Regions from separate parts of the Homo sapiens genome. Here region 1 is linked to region 2. The links are contacts of gene promoters, found by promoter capture Hi-C in blood cells and fetal thymus (Javierre and others, 2016). All regions are on one chromosome and are shown on one strand. Each heading gives the region's core, a stretch centred on a gene start or on the middle of the fragment in contact. The rest is flanking DNA. Distances are from core to core; before and after follow the strand shown.

The links. The method cuts DNA at HindIII sites, captures the fragments that hold promoters and counts their contacts. A CHiCAGO score of 5 or more calls a contact.
Region 1: a fragment that was not itself captured here is called in contact with the fragment with the promoter of SLC6A3 in region 2 in 5 of 17 cell types (neutrophils, naive B cells, total B cells and 2 more); the score reaches 7.3 in neutrophils.

What each region holds. Positions count from the first base shown.
Region 1 is chr5:1,646,820-1,653,714 of GRCh38, forward strand. No RefSeq gene overlaps it. Among named protein-coding and RNA genes, the nearest start is that of MIR4277, 59 kb to the right of the region's middle. The HindIII fragment of the contact is 4,657 bases long and covers 1,983-6,639 here.
Region 2 is chr5:1,443,161-1,450,631 of GRCh38, forward strand. SLC6A3 (solute carrier family 6 member 3) reads right to left here and starts at 2,280. Exons shown (of 15, transcript NM_001044.5): 1 at 2,188-2,280; 2 at 1-82. The coding sequence starts at 37. RefSeq lists an enhancer at 2,918-3,417. The HindIII fragment of the contact is 13,596 bases long and covers 1-6,785 here.

The DNA.
Region 1 (6,895 bases), core at 3,061-5,560, 210 kb after region 2:
AAAAAATGCTCTTCATCACTGGCCATCAGAGAAATGCAAATCAAAACCACAATGAGATACCATCTCACACCAGTTAGAATGGCGATCATTAAAAAGTCAGGAAACAACAGGTGCTGGAGAGGATGTGGAGAAATAGGAACACTTTGACACTGTTGGTGGGACTGTAAACTAGTTCAACCATTGTGGAAGTCAGTGTGGCGATTCCTCAGGGATCTAGAACTGGAAATACCATTTGACCCCACCATCCCATGACTGGGTATATACCCAAAGGACTATAAATCATGCTGCTATAAAGACACATGCACACGTATGTGTATTGCAGCACTACTCACAATAGCAAAGACTTGGAACCAATCCAAATGTCCATCAATGATAGACTGGATTAAGAAAATGTGGCACATATACACCATGGAATACTATGCAGCCATAAAAAATGATGAGTTTATGTCCTTTGTAGGGACATGGATGAAGCTGGAAACCATCATTCTCAGCAAACTATCGCAAGGACAAAAACCCAAACACTGCATGTTCTCACTCACAGGTGGGAATTGAACAATGAGAACACTTGGACACAGGAAGGGGAGCATCACACACCAGGGCCTGTTGTGGGGTGGGGGGAGAGGGGAGGGATAGCATTAGGAGATATACCTAATGTAAATGACGAGTTAATGGGTGCAGCACACCAACATGGCACATGTATACCTATGTAACAAACCTGCACGTTGTGCACATGTACCCTAGAACTTAAAGTATAGTAATAATAATGATAATAAAAATCATGTTTACAAGCAAAAGCCACCCTCCAACCTTCTGTCATAGGCGTTTTAATCGTGTGAGGTTTCTAGCCCACGGGCGCCTCTCTCCAGCCCATGGCTCTCTGAGGCAGAAGCAGCCTTCCACTTTCCAAGGTAATGGCACCACCACCCTGCTTGGTGCCCACCAGCATCTCCCTGTCACTCGAAAGACAGTGTCCAAACCCCTGCCTGTTACCCCAGGCCCTGTGGGTCTATCCCGGCAGCTCACCAGCTGTGGCCTCCTCAGACAGCCTCCTTTCCCCCAAATCCCAGCCTCAGTCCCTCGGATGCTTCCAGGTGGGAAGGCTCTGGCAGGCTCCAGGAGGAGCAGATAGAACTTGGGTGATCAGCCACCGGGCGTGGTGGCTCATGCCTGTAATCTCAGCACTGTGGGAATCCGAGGCGAGCAGATCACTTGAGATCAGGAGTTTGAGACCAGCCTGGCCGACATGGCGAACCCTGTCTCTACCAAAAATACAAAAAAAAAAAAAAAAAAAAAATTAGCTGGGCGTGGTGGCCTGCACCTGTAATCCCAGCTACTTGGGAGGCTGAGGCATGAGAATCACTTGAACCCAGCAGGCAGAGGTTGCAGTGAACTGGGATTGCACCACTGCACTCCAGCCTGGGTGACAGACTGAGACTGTCTCAAAAATAAAAGGTGATCAGGAAGTTCTTGTTTTTGCTTTTTGTTTTTCCCCCTGTGGAATCCTTTGCTCTGCAAAACAGGTGAGCGTTTCTTTGGTGGGGCGCTCAGCTCCCCCACCCCCCCCAGAACTGCTGATCCCACCCTCATGTCTGCATTCTTGAGGTGGTCCTGAGACGTGGCTTTGAAAAACACTGCTTGGGCTGGGTGCAGTGGCTCATGCCTGTAATCCCAGCACTTTGGGAGGCCAAGGTGGGAGGACTACCTGAGGTCAGGAGTTCAAGACCAGGCTGGTCAACATGGTGGAACCCTGTCTCTACTAAAAATACAAAAATTAGCTGGGCGTTGTGGTGCATGCCTGTAATCCCAGCTACTTGGGAGGCTGAGGCAGGAGTATCGCTTGAACCCAGGAGGCAAAGGTTGCAGTGAGCCAGGATTACACCACTGCACTCCAGCCTGGGCAACAGAGTGAGACTCCATCTCAAAAAAAAAGGAAAGAAAAAGAGAAACACTGCTTGAAACAAGAAAGGAACACAAAGATTAAAAGCTTAGAATTTTCCATAAACCTTTTGGCCACTTATATGTCTTCTGTTGAGAAATGATCTTTTGTCTACTTTCTATGGGATTATTTATTTATCTATTTTTTTCTGTTGTTTGATTTCCTTGTGTATTCTGGATATTGGCCCCAAAAAGCAAGCGAAAAAATGCTCAACATCATGAATCATTGGGGAAATGCACATCAAAACCACAATGAGGTATCATCTACCCCAGTTCAGATGGCTTTAATTAAAAACAAAAACCATAACAAATGCTGGCGAGGATGTGGAGAAAGGGGAACCATACACACTGTAGGTGGGAATGTAAATGAGTACAGCCGCTATGGACAACAGGATTGAGTTCTTAAAAAATTAAAAATAGAGCTACCCTATGATCCAGCCATCCCCGCTGATGGGTATTTATCCAAAGGAAAGGGAATCCTGTGTGAAAGGGAATCTGGGCCCCCCTGTTTACTGCAGCACTGTTCACAATGGCAAAGATATGGAATCAACCTAGGTGCCTATCAATGGATGAATGGATACAGAACACGTGATATCTATTCGCGATGGAATACTCTGCAGCCATACACAAGAATGAAATCATGTCGTCTGCAACAACATGGATGGAATTGAAGGCTGTCATGTTAAGGGAAGTAAGCCGGGGTAGAAAGACAAATGTACCATGTTCTCACTCATTTGTGGGCACTGAAAGAGTGGCTCTCACAGAGGCAGAGAGTTGGCTGGTGGTTCCCAGAGGCTGGGCAGGGTGTGTGGGTGAGAGGCAGACAGAAAGTGAGGCTGGTTACGGGGCACAAACATGCAGTCAGGGGAAGGAGTAAGTTCCAATGTTCCATAGAACAGTTCACAGACCAAAGGCAACAATCATTTACTGTTTCCTTCCTTCCTTTCTTCCTTCCTTCCTTCCTTCCCTTCCTCCCTCCCTTCTTTCTTTCTCTCTCTCTCTTTCTCTCTTTCTTTTCCTTCTTTCTCTTTCTTTCTCTCTTTCTCTCTCTCTCTCTCTTTCTTTTTCTTTCTCTCTCTCTCTCTTTCTCTCTTTCTTACTTTCTTTATTTCTTTTTGACAGAGTCTCACTCCAGGCTGGAGTGCAGTGGAGGCATGATCTCGGCTCACTGCAACCTCCGCCTCCTGGGTTCAAACGATTCTCCTGTCAGCCTCCCGAGTAGCTGGGATTACAGGTGTGTGCCACCATGCCTGGCTAATTTTTGTGTTTTCAGTAGAGACAGGGTTTTGCCATGTTGGCCAGGCTGGTCTCGAACTCCTGACCTCAGGTGATCCACCTGCCTTGGCCTCCTAAAGCGCTGGGATTACAGGTGTGAGCCACTGCACCTGGTCCGCTGTATATTTCAAAATAGCTAGAAGAACTGGAATCTTCCCAACAGAAAGAAAGAGTAGATGTTCCAAGTGATGGATATACTACATACCCTGATTTGATCACTACATGCTGTGTGCACAATCAAAATATCACAACTGCCCTGTAAATATGTACAATTATTATGTATCAATAAACACTTTTCAAAAAATTTTAGATTTGATTACAAAGACATTAAACCCTGTGACACTTCAAAAAACACCATAACAAAACAAACAAAATCCAACAAAAACCGGAAGCACGCTGTGACGGTTTTGACATCTGATGTCCTCAGTGTCTAGAGGTCTTACGGGAAGAAGGAAGGCGCAATCGAATGAAGTTAGATGTGGAAATAGAATCACAACAACCCAGGAAGATGCAATTTGAGTTTTAACGATGAATTTAGCAATTTGCTTAAAAATAGTAATAGTCAATGTTGGCAAATATTCAGAGGAATATGCGTTTTCAGATACTAGTAGCAAAAGTATCAGCATAATTTTGTTCTGGAGAGGGGTTTGGTAATATGCACCAGAAGCCTTCCAATGTGGCTGACCTAGCAATGCTGCCTTTAGGGTGATAAACTGGCAAGTGGTCAAAATCCGCTCTGTGGCCTGTTGCTGCACGGCCAAGAGCTCGGAATGGTCCGTTACTGTGAAAACGATTAGCGAATAAGGAAGAGTGTGCGGTGGAGACCATCTTCCCCGTCCCCGCCCCCAGCACAATACTGACTCTCTAGCTGTCTGCAGAGCACGTTTGCAGACCCCTGATCTATGTGGAGGAGTAAACAAGTAAACAACAAAACGGTCCAGGTGTTCATTTTGCAGCATTTAGAAAATGTTGGTAAAAATAAAATAAAGAAATAAAGGGCCTAAATGTCCGTCTTTCCAACCTCATGGAAGTAGTTCAATCGATTCTGGCAAATGCAAATCCTGTCGTGTTCGGCAGCCGCTACAGGTAGACAGTGCTGCTGAAGAACTTCCAGTAACATGAGAAAACACTCATGAGAGGGTCGTGCTAAGTGAGAGCATTAAGTTATACAGACGACTTTATTCCAATTTTAATTTGAAGGTGTGTAAATAGAAAGAAATGGAAAGAAAGAAAATACTTGAACATCTTAATTACTGGGTGTTCATCCCGGGTGTGGGGAAGCAGGGGCTTCGGGTGAGGGTGGTGGGGGGTATGAGGAGTTTGGAGGTGGGTGGGAGGGGATCCCTAAAGTGACAGAGTCCTGGGAGCCCAGGGCTTGGAAGCTCACCACCTGGCAGTGCAGCCATGGGATCCAGACAGCTTCGCTGGACAGACGCACCGTGAGGGCTGGGGTGGGTCCTGGGGAGGGCAGGGCCAGAAAAGGGTGGGGCTGGGGAGAGTGGGGTCAGGGGAGGGCGGGGCTGGGGAGGGATGAGGCCTGGGGAGGGGTGAGGCCTGGGGAGGGTAGGGCCTGGGAAGAGTGGGGGATGGGGAGGGGTGAGGCCTGGGGAGGGTAGGGCCTGGGAAGAGTGGGGGATGGGGAGGGGTGAGGCCTGGGGAAGGTGGGGCTGGAAGAAGGTAGGGCTGGGGAGGGGTGGGGCTGGGGGAGGGATGAGGCCTGGGGAGGGGTGAGGCCTGGGGAAGGTGGGGCTGGGGAGGGGGGGGCCACAGAGGGCAGGGCAGGGGTAGGGCAAGGCTGGGGAGGGATGATGCCTGGGGAGGGGTGGCCTGGAGATGTCAGGGCTGGGGAGGGTAAGGCTGGGGAGGGATGAGGTCTGGGGAGGGGTGGGGCTGGGGGAGGACCGGCCTGTGGGGCAGGGCCTATGGGGGCATGGGGCCTGGGTCCTCGGGGCCTGGGACAGTGTCACTCTTCCCTTCCTTGGCTCATCCTGTGACCCGAAGAGCCTCTGCCAGGCCCTGGGCTCCTGCTGAGCTCCTGCTGAGAACAAGGCAGCCTGGTTTTTCTTTGATCTCCTGCCCCGAAGGTTGATGAGGGGATGGAGGGTCTGGAGCAATGGCCCAGACAGGGTGGAAGTTCCCTGGGGAAGAAGGGGGTGCCTGGAGTGGGTGGGTGGTCAGGGACCTTTCGAGAGGAGGGGTCTCAAGGTGAGGGCTCCTCAGGCCCCCGAATGTGGGGCAGGGTGGGTGCACAAGCAGAGGCTGTGGGGGAGGTGCTGGGCAAGGGAAGGGCAGGGCCCATTCTTAGGAGGAGCCTGAGAGTGGGACAAGAACAGATAAATTCTCAGGGAGAATGGGGTCCCTCGCCATGGGGGGTCCTGGAACAATCCATGGCGGCCTGTCCCTCTGCCTGCTCCCACCACAGTTCCGTGCTTCTCCAGAGGGCCAGGCTGGCCATGCTGTCCCTAACCCACTCCAGGGACCACATGAGTGTAACAGGATGTAGGAGAGAGCCAGGGCTTGGAAATCCATGATCTGGCCGTGTGGCCATGGGATCTGGCCAGCCTCGCAGGATGCTGTGAGGTGGGGCGAGGGCCGGGTGCAGGGAGGATGCTGTGGGTCTCCCAGGTGCCCTGTGCAGGACAGCAGCCAAGTGCTCCCAGGGGCCACCCTATGTCACACCCAGTGTGGGGGGCCCTGAGGGCAAAGGGTCCAGGGGAGGATATCAGGAGTGCCCTCCCTGTTGGAGGCTGGACTGGCCCTCCTTCCCCACAAGTGGGTTTTAGGTTGGGGCAGGAGGGAGGGACTTAGGAATGAACACGATCAGAGTAGACTCTGCTCCTGCTTCCTTGGGCCCCCACCAGCCTGGTGACTTGCTGGGGGGACACGAGGAAGATGGGGCGTGGCTGAGGCTTGGGCGGTGGGGAAGAGCCAGCTTGGGCCGGGTGTCTCTCTGTGAGGGGAGGGACCCTGGCAGGCCACGCCGAGGCCTCACAAGGAACTTGTGGTTGATGCTTTCCAAAACAGGCCCTTGGCATTTGGGTGACAGCCAGGCAGAGCTAGCTTGGTGGTGGAAGCCACTGACAGCGCCGGTTTCCCGATGAAAACTTGACGTTCGTGTTTTGAGAGCTAGCTGGGGAGACTGGGAGCTGGGTCCTCTCGGAGTGCCAGGTCAGCCGATGGCGTGTGGCCTTACGTGTGGGGTGGGGTCCCCTGTCCAGGGGTCTGAGCTTCTCACGCCTCTGGGCCCTCCGTGCTCCAGCGTTCTCAGGTTCTTTTTTTTTGGGGGGACCTTGTGGGGGCCACACATCGCGCCTGACTCCCCAGACGGATGGACCTGGCTGCTGCCTCCCCGTCCCCGGGAAGCGGCTGGCCAGTGCATCAGGGAACACAGGTCTCTTTCCTCTGTCTTCCTCCATCAGGCTCCGGAAAAGCTTTCCCCAGAGAAGACACCGGACAGCAGGGGCCGCCTCCCGTAGCTCTTGTGACCCAGCCTGTTTCTGCATCTGAGCTGCGTCCTCTGGGTGGGGGTGTCTGCACCTGGGGTGTGTGTGAGAGGATGAGGGAGGGAGCGTGCCTGTGCCTGTGTGCGTGCAACTGTGTTCCTGCAGGCTGTGCCTCTCTGTGCACGTGTGTGCAGCCATGCGTGCGTGTTCACACGTGTGGAGTGTGTGCGTGCGTCCGTGCC
Region 2 (7,471 bases), core at 1,030-3,529:
AAGACATGAGTCCCACGGAGCATTTGCTCTTACTCATGGGCACACTGGGAGTTGAGGAATTCTGTGCTTCTTCCCTCTTGGTCTTCAGCCAATATGAAAAATAAACACACAACAGGAACGCAACAATTCAGCAGCCAGGGCTAGGGACATACCTGGTGCGGAGGGCAGAGCCCCGAGGCATTCACGGGCATTCCTCTGGGAAGGGATGGGTGCGTTCTCAGCGCCTGAGATGGTACAGCTGGGGCACGGGAGCTGGGAAGTGCCAGCCCTCACCACAGGGCTGGGGCACTGGCCCATGGAGGCCTCAAGACAGACACTCTGGTTTGCTCCTCCTTCCCCTGCACCCCTCCCCACTCCTATCAAAGTGCAAGGCTGTGTGAGCTCTAGCGTGGCTTTCTACTAACAATGCATGGATATCACTTCCACCTTCCCCCACACTTCCAGAGAGCAATTTTACAATCTTCTAAGAGCATTCAATAATGTCTTCATGACTGTTCATCTGTATTCTTTTTTCTTTTTTTTTTCTTTTTTAACATGAGGTCTCGCTCTGTCACCCAGGATGGAATACAGTTGTGATTACAACTCACTGCCTCAACCTCCTAGGTTCAAGTGATCCTTGCACCTCAGCCTCCTGAGCAGCTGAGACTACAGGTGTGCACCACAGCACCGGCTAAGTTATTTTTGTGTGTGTTTTTTTGTTGTTGTTGTTGTTTTTTTGTAGAGACAGGGTCTGACTATTGTTGCCAAGGCTGGTTTTGAACTCCTGGTCTCAAGCGATCCTCCTGCCTCAGCCTCCCAAAGTGCTGAGATGACAGGCATGAGCCACCAAGCCTGGGCTTGTATTGTTTATACTCAGTAATAAAGAGCAAAATTTATATAAGCAAAATCAGCCACTGTAAAGAGAGTTTAGACATAACCATCACAACTGCTTCCTCAAAAAGTGTCTGTACAAGCCACATCCACCTAGGGCAGGTGGCACCACCCCGCGTGAGAGAGCTGGGCGGAGGATGGACAGGGCTTCATCGCGGGAACTAGCTCCTGGGCCAGCAGGGTAACCCGGGAAATCCTGTCCAAACGGCTACATAAACCCCCCTGCAACGCTGAGCAGGAGAGCAGGAGCGTCTACACCGCCCCAGCCAGGGCGACTTCTGTCATTTGGATCCAGCAGCAGCGTGTTTCAGTCGAGCGCACGCACACACAGACACACAGACACACACAGACTCACAAACACACATACACACTCACACACACACAGGCGAGCACATACACTTACACACATACACACTCACACTCACACAGGTGCGCACACACACACAACGACTGAAGCAGGTCGCAGGTGGAGGCTCTAACAGGCAACTTTCCCTGCATCCAAGTTTGCACAAAACCTCACCCATGAGCTATCACGAGCTATGCCACGCACCCGGTGACAACCTCAACCGGCACGACCCCTCCGGTGGGTAAAACACCCGACGAAGGGGTTCCGCGGCGCGAGCAGGAGGCCGCGTTGGGAGAGGGCGTCGGGTGCGGAGCTCGCGAGTCTCCGGCAAGCCGCCGCCGCCCTGGGGCCACCTGACCCCGCTCCTGAACGCGGGGCCTCAGAGGCGAGTTTTGGGTCTACACAGCAAAATGTGGCCCGTTAGAAAGCGTCCTTCCTCACCGCGCCCAGAACAAGAAGCGGCGCTGCCTGGCGAGTCCTCGCCCGGCCTCCCCGCCCTGCCCAGAGCACCAGCGCGCAGCCCGCGCCCGCCACCACCCCCAACACAGACAAAGCCCCCGCGAGATGGAGCGGCGGTGTACAAAACCCACTCCGATCGGATCTGGGATGCGCCGCACCCCTAGTAGGGTTAAGTTCCACGAGAAGAAACCAGGACCCCCGAGTCACAGCCATAGACACCCACGCGTCCCCTAAGCCGGTGACTGCACCAGGTGCCCACCCGGTTCTGAGCCTGGAGCGGGGCCAGGGGCAGCCCTGCACCCTCCTCGCGCCTCGGACGGCCTCAGGGTCCCATGTGGCGCTATCGGGGGGCGCTCGGCACCCGCGACTGTTGGCGACTTTGGAGACGGCGCGGTCTGCGGGACGCGGGGACCCCAGACTGTGCCCGGTCCCCGGCCCCCGCCCCTGCGCCCCACTTCGGGGTCTGCGGAAGGAGCGGGGCGCCCCGATGCCGCGAGCGACGCTGGCCTCACCTGGCCGCCCGGGCCTGGGCTTTGCACGCGAGTCCTGGCGCCGAGAGCGTTCCGCGAAGCCTCCCCTCCCGCTCCGCAGCGCTGGGCGGTCTCAGCCTCGGCCTCGGGCTCTTATCCAGTAGACAGGGTCCGCCCCGCCCCGCCCTCCCGCCGACGGGGTCGCCCTCGCGTCCTGGCTCCTCCTCCTCACCTCCCCGGGCCGCGCCCCCGCCCCCGCCTCCCGGACGCAGATGGCTGGGAGCAAGCGGCGGCCACGGCTCCACTGTCCTGCGCGTCCCGGAGCCTCGGACACGGGGTGCGGGGGCCTGGGGGTCCGAGACGTCGCGGATCTAGACGGGCGCCTTCCACGCGGGAACTGTCTGGGCCGCCCTGCGCCCTCGCCCGCACCCCTGGGGGCTGCCCCGGGCACCCGCTATCTTCGGACGCCCAGGGCTGGCGGCTCCCAGCTGGACGGGGAGGGAGCCGAGCGGCTGCGCGCGGGGAACTGCTGGGACCCCGTCGGGCCGACCCTTCCCTCCCTCCCCATCAGGGGCCCCTACGGTGGCCCCGCGCTCTGGGGACCACGTCCCTCCCACCCCGCCGCTCCACGCTCTGACCAGCGGGCTCGGGACCCCGCCGAGGACTCTGCACGCTTCCCGGCGTGCGGGCTGCGGAGACGCGGGTCCTTCCGTGGCCTTGGGGTCTCCGCGACCTCGAGGCGACCGAGGTCCCCTAGGCCTAGTCCCCGCCTTGCCGGCATCTAGTGCGCCTGCATCGGAACCGAGGGGCCCGCCTCGCACTCGCCTAAGAAAACCATTTCCCGGGACGGGCCTGGAAAGCCCTGGCGGTTGGTATCCGGCTCCAGGGCCGAATGGACTCCGAGGCTTTCCTTCCGAGATGCCCGGGCGGGATTTCTTCCATTCAGCGCGCGGAGGAATGGAGCCCCCAGGCCGCCAAGGCCCAGGATGTCCAGGTCCTTAGAAGGCACCGAGGTGAGTGGCCGCGCCCAGCTCTGTGCGTCGCCCCTAGGGTCGCCCGAACCCCGGCGTTCCTCCCCGTGTACCCTCGATGCTCCCGTGAGCACCCTGCCCTGGGCGTCCAGGCGAGCCCTGGGGCTCTCCAGCCATTCCAGCCTGCAGCCCGCGCTCAGCAGTGAGGGAGGCAGGGACCCTTGGTGCCTGACTCCGCAGTACCCGCCCGCAGCGCGGTGCCCCACCCCCTGCGCCCGCCCCGCACTCCCCGCACACCACCACTCCCCTCCCCGCCCCCCGCTCCCCCGCTCCCCGGCTCCGGGGCTGGCACCCAGGCAGAAGGCACTCAGGGCTGTGACTTCACGCTGAGTTGGAATCAAGTGGGAGCCTAGTGACCCCCTGGGGCTGCCATGACAAAAAACTCCACAGCCTGGGGGCTCACACAGAAGCCTTCAGTTCTAACGGTTCCGGTGTCCCGAGGCCAAGGCCTGGCCGACTCTGTGTCTGGTGAGGGCCGCTTCGGGGTTGCAGACAGTTCTCTCCCTGTATCTCCCCACGCTAGGGGCTGGGGAGAGCTCTCCGGGGTCTGTTTTATGAGGGCACTGGTCCCATTCCTCAGGGTGGAGCCCTCCTGGCCTGACCACCTGAAGGCCTCCTGACACCACCTCCCATCAGGGGTGGGACTTCATCGCCAGGGAGGTGAGGGGACTTCAGGAGAGGGGGATGTGCCACCTCGAAGCTGTAGTGTGTCAGTGGCTGCCACAGAAGGGATCTCTCTACCCCTATTATCTCCATGGCACAGGTTTCAATAAAAAGGAGTGAGCCAGGGCTTGGCCCCAGAGCAGCAGGGTTGAGGAAACAGTCTCCCAAGGAAAAGACTTTGCAGGTGACTAAGGGAGGCTGTTAAATAAAACACACAGAGAGAATGGATGTTCAGGTATATTAAAAATACACAGGCCAGGAGTGAGGGCTCACGCTTGTAATCCCAGCACTCTGGGAGGCCGAGGAAGGAGGATCTCTTGAGGCCAGGAGTTTGAGACCAGCCTGGGCCACATGGCAAAACCCTGACTTTGAAAAAAAAAATTAGCCAGGCATGGTGGCCCACACCTGTAGTCCCAGCTACTGGGGAGGCAGAGGTGGGAGAATAGCTTGAAGCTGGGAGGTGGAGGTTGTAGTGAGCTGAGATTGCGCCATGGGCCACAGGATGAGACCCTGTCTCGAAACAAAACAACACACAGGCAAACAGCGTTTGGGAAGGGATTGCAAGCGCTGCAGGAGCGCAGAATTGTGACCCAAAGCTAACAGGGTACAGGCAGGAAGGTGCAGGGACTAGAGGTCACACAGATCCAGGCAGCCACATCCTTACTGACCAGTAGCACACAGAGAATGCACCTGCCACACTCAGGAGGGGCCACTGAGTGATCACACGCATGTAACCTGCACTCTGCCAAGACAAAGAGCATTCCTCCACCCCTGCCTCAACCCCGACTTCCAACCACATGAATTAGGATAAAGGAGCTTTGGGTGCTCTAAGAACAAACTAACTGCGGGAGTTGGGCTCATGGATGACACAGAGAAAGCGCAGCTGCCAGACCCATGGGTCTCCATCCTCCCACAACAGGAATGCTCCGTGAACTGTGCAGGTAGAAGCAGTGTGGTTATGAGCTGATCAGACCTGATCAAACGGCCGACCTTTGCATGCTTGGAACTTTGCCCTAAATGCCAAGTCGGCTTTATTATCATTGTGGTTGCTGCTATGGCTGCTGTGGGCTCAGGGCGTTGGGTGCAGGCAGGTGGAGCCCCCCTGCCTCTGCACTTCCTGCCCATGCTCGGCACCTCTCCCCACTGGCTGGGACCGCAGCTGCAGAGCCCACAAGGAGCCCCTGGCCACTGACTGCTGTCTCCAAAGCAACCTTGCCCCACGGGTCCCCCCCTCCTTGGGTGCTGCCTCCTGGGAGGCCCTCAGTGCTGGATGTTGCGCCGTGTCTCGCCTGATTTGGAAGACAGCGTGGATGCTCCCCCCATGAGTGCTGTATCTGAGAGGGGACAAGGACAGTGGCAGTGAGATGACAGTCATTTACCTGCCTGCGTATTTACTATATTGAGGGTGTCCTGTGTGCTTTCAGAGGAAGTCCCAGGGAGCCCAGCTCAGACTTTAAAGACCCTGACCTCTCACTGGTGCTGGGAAGGCCCTGGGGGTAGGGGGCTTGGGGAGGGCAAGGGTGAGGGGACCAGTAGGCAGGAGTGGCTTTTGTCCAGGGGTGTGGGAGGTCAGATCCCAGACCTTGTCTGTCCAGGTTCTGAGAATGATGGAAGGCGCTGGCTCCAGGCAGGAGGCCCTGCTCACTGCTGCACCCCTGTGCCCTCCCCGGGGGCCACCTCAGGAGGAAGATAGTTTCCTCTCGCATGGCAGGGACAGCAGTACACTTCCAATGTCTTCTCTCAGAGCTGTATCATTTTCCGGCTCACTGCTGGTTTTAGTCACAGACATCTTGATGGTCTTGCCACTGCACAGCATGTCACAGTGGTCTGCCACACTGATGACATCAGGCTGAATCAACCTGGGGAGCAAAAAATGAAAAATGCCAAGATGCCTTGGTAAGACACGTGCTTGCTAAAAATTGAAAGAGAAAATAACACATTTTCAAAACCTGCCACCTTGGTGAACTTTCTGTGGGTCCATTGGTCTGATTGGTCAAAATATATATCCAAAATGAAAGAAAACACGCTGTCTCTGGCAAGCAAGACTACCACTAAGAAAGAAGTATCATACCTGGTGAGGCTCTTCCGGTTTGCAAGGTGAGGTGCAAGACACTCGGGGATGCTTCTCTGGCCTGTTTTGTGTTCTTCATAAAGCGTTTGGTTTTGAGTAGGGCCCAGAGTAAGAAAGATTCTGCTGCTGGTCTGGATGGGCAAACTGCTGCCCCAGGAGGCCACACAATCTGGTGTTGTTCTCCGACTTTAGCTGGCATCACAGTCACCTACATAAACCTTTACATGCATAGGAGGCACAGATCACCTCGCTCCATCCTTAGAGACGCAGGTTCAGTAGGTCTGAGGTGGGACCTGAGGACCTGCGTTTCTAGAAAGTTCTCAGGTGACACTGACACTGCTGGCCCAGGAACCACACTTTGAGAACACTGATCTGGCAGAACCAGTGGGAATTGGAGGGTCTGTGGCAGACGGAGATGTTGTAGGCAGCGCAGAAAATAACAGTTGAATAAGAGCTGAACGCTCTCCTGAAAATACGTCCTCTCCTTTTGAGTAAGAGCAGCCCTGAGCCATAGCAGAAACTCAGGGAGCTCTGTTACCATAGAAGCTGAGCGGCCCAGCAGAAGCTATTTGTTATCGGACCCACAGAGGTTGTGTAGACAGCATCCTGCCGTCCTCAGGTGGAATGTTTACGACACAAGGCTTGAGCAGGTCTGGAAGGCGCGGTAAGTTCCATGAACAAGCACCCACTCTTGCTGCATGGAGACCGCTTCCTTAACCCAGACCTCTGGCTACATGAGAGTTTCTTATGACATTGAACGGAGAAAATGCATGCGTTGGGGCCTGGATTACATGTGTCTATACACAGCACACTGCCCCCACCAGAAAGTGAAAGGCTGTGTCATCATGGCCTTCTGTGAAAGACCAGTGAAAGAAAGCTTCCCAGTGGGCACATATTCAAACCATGCATCAGGTTCATCATCTAGCCAAGGAGGGATGGCCAGAGGATGGCCCTAAATGTAGTCATAGGCAGTGGCGAATGGTCTGGCTACAGAGCAGGAGGCTTCAAAAAAATTGAAATATTGATGACAAGATTTTTCTTGGTAGATTTCATGTTTGTAGAAAATCTTGAGGAATTTACAAAAAAAACTACTAGAATTTATAAATGAATTTAGCAAGGCCATGGGATCTGATGAAAACCAATTGTATTTCTATGTACTGGCAGCAAACAATTCTAAAATAAAACCTAAAATAATTTCACTTACAATAGCATCCGAAACAAAATGCTTGGGGATAAACCGTATCCGAGACTTGTGCACCGAAAACCTAGAATCCATTGCTGTGAGAAACTTTTGAAAGTCTAGACAAGCAGAGGAGTGTGTATGTTTATGACTGAAAGGCTCAATATTAATGAGATGTCAGTTCTTCATAAATTGACATACAGATTCAATGCAATCTCAATCAAAATTCTAACTTGCTTTTTTGAAGAAATTAACCAGCTGGTTCTAAAATGTGTTTGGAGATGTGGGTGACCTAGAGTAGCCAAAAGAATCTTGAAAAAGAACAACATTGGAGGACCTAGGAGATGCCTTTCATGATTCCACCATCCTAACAAAACTAAT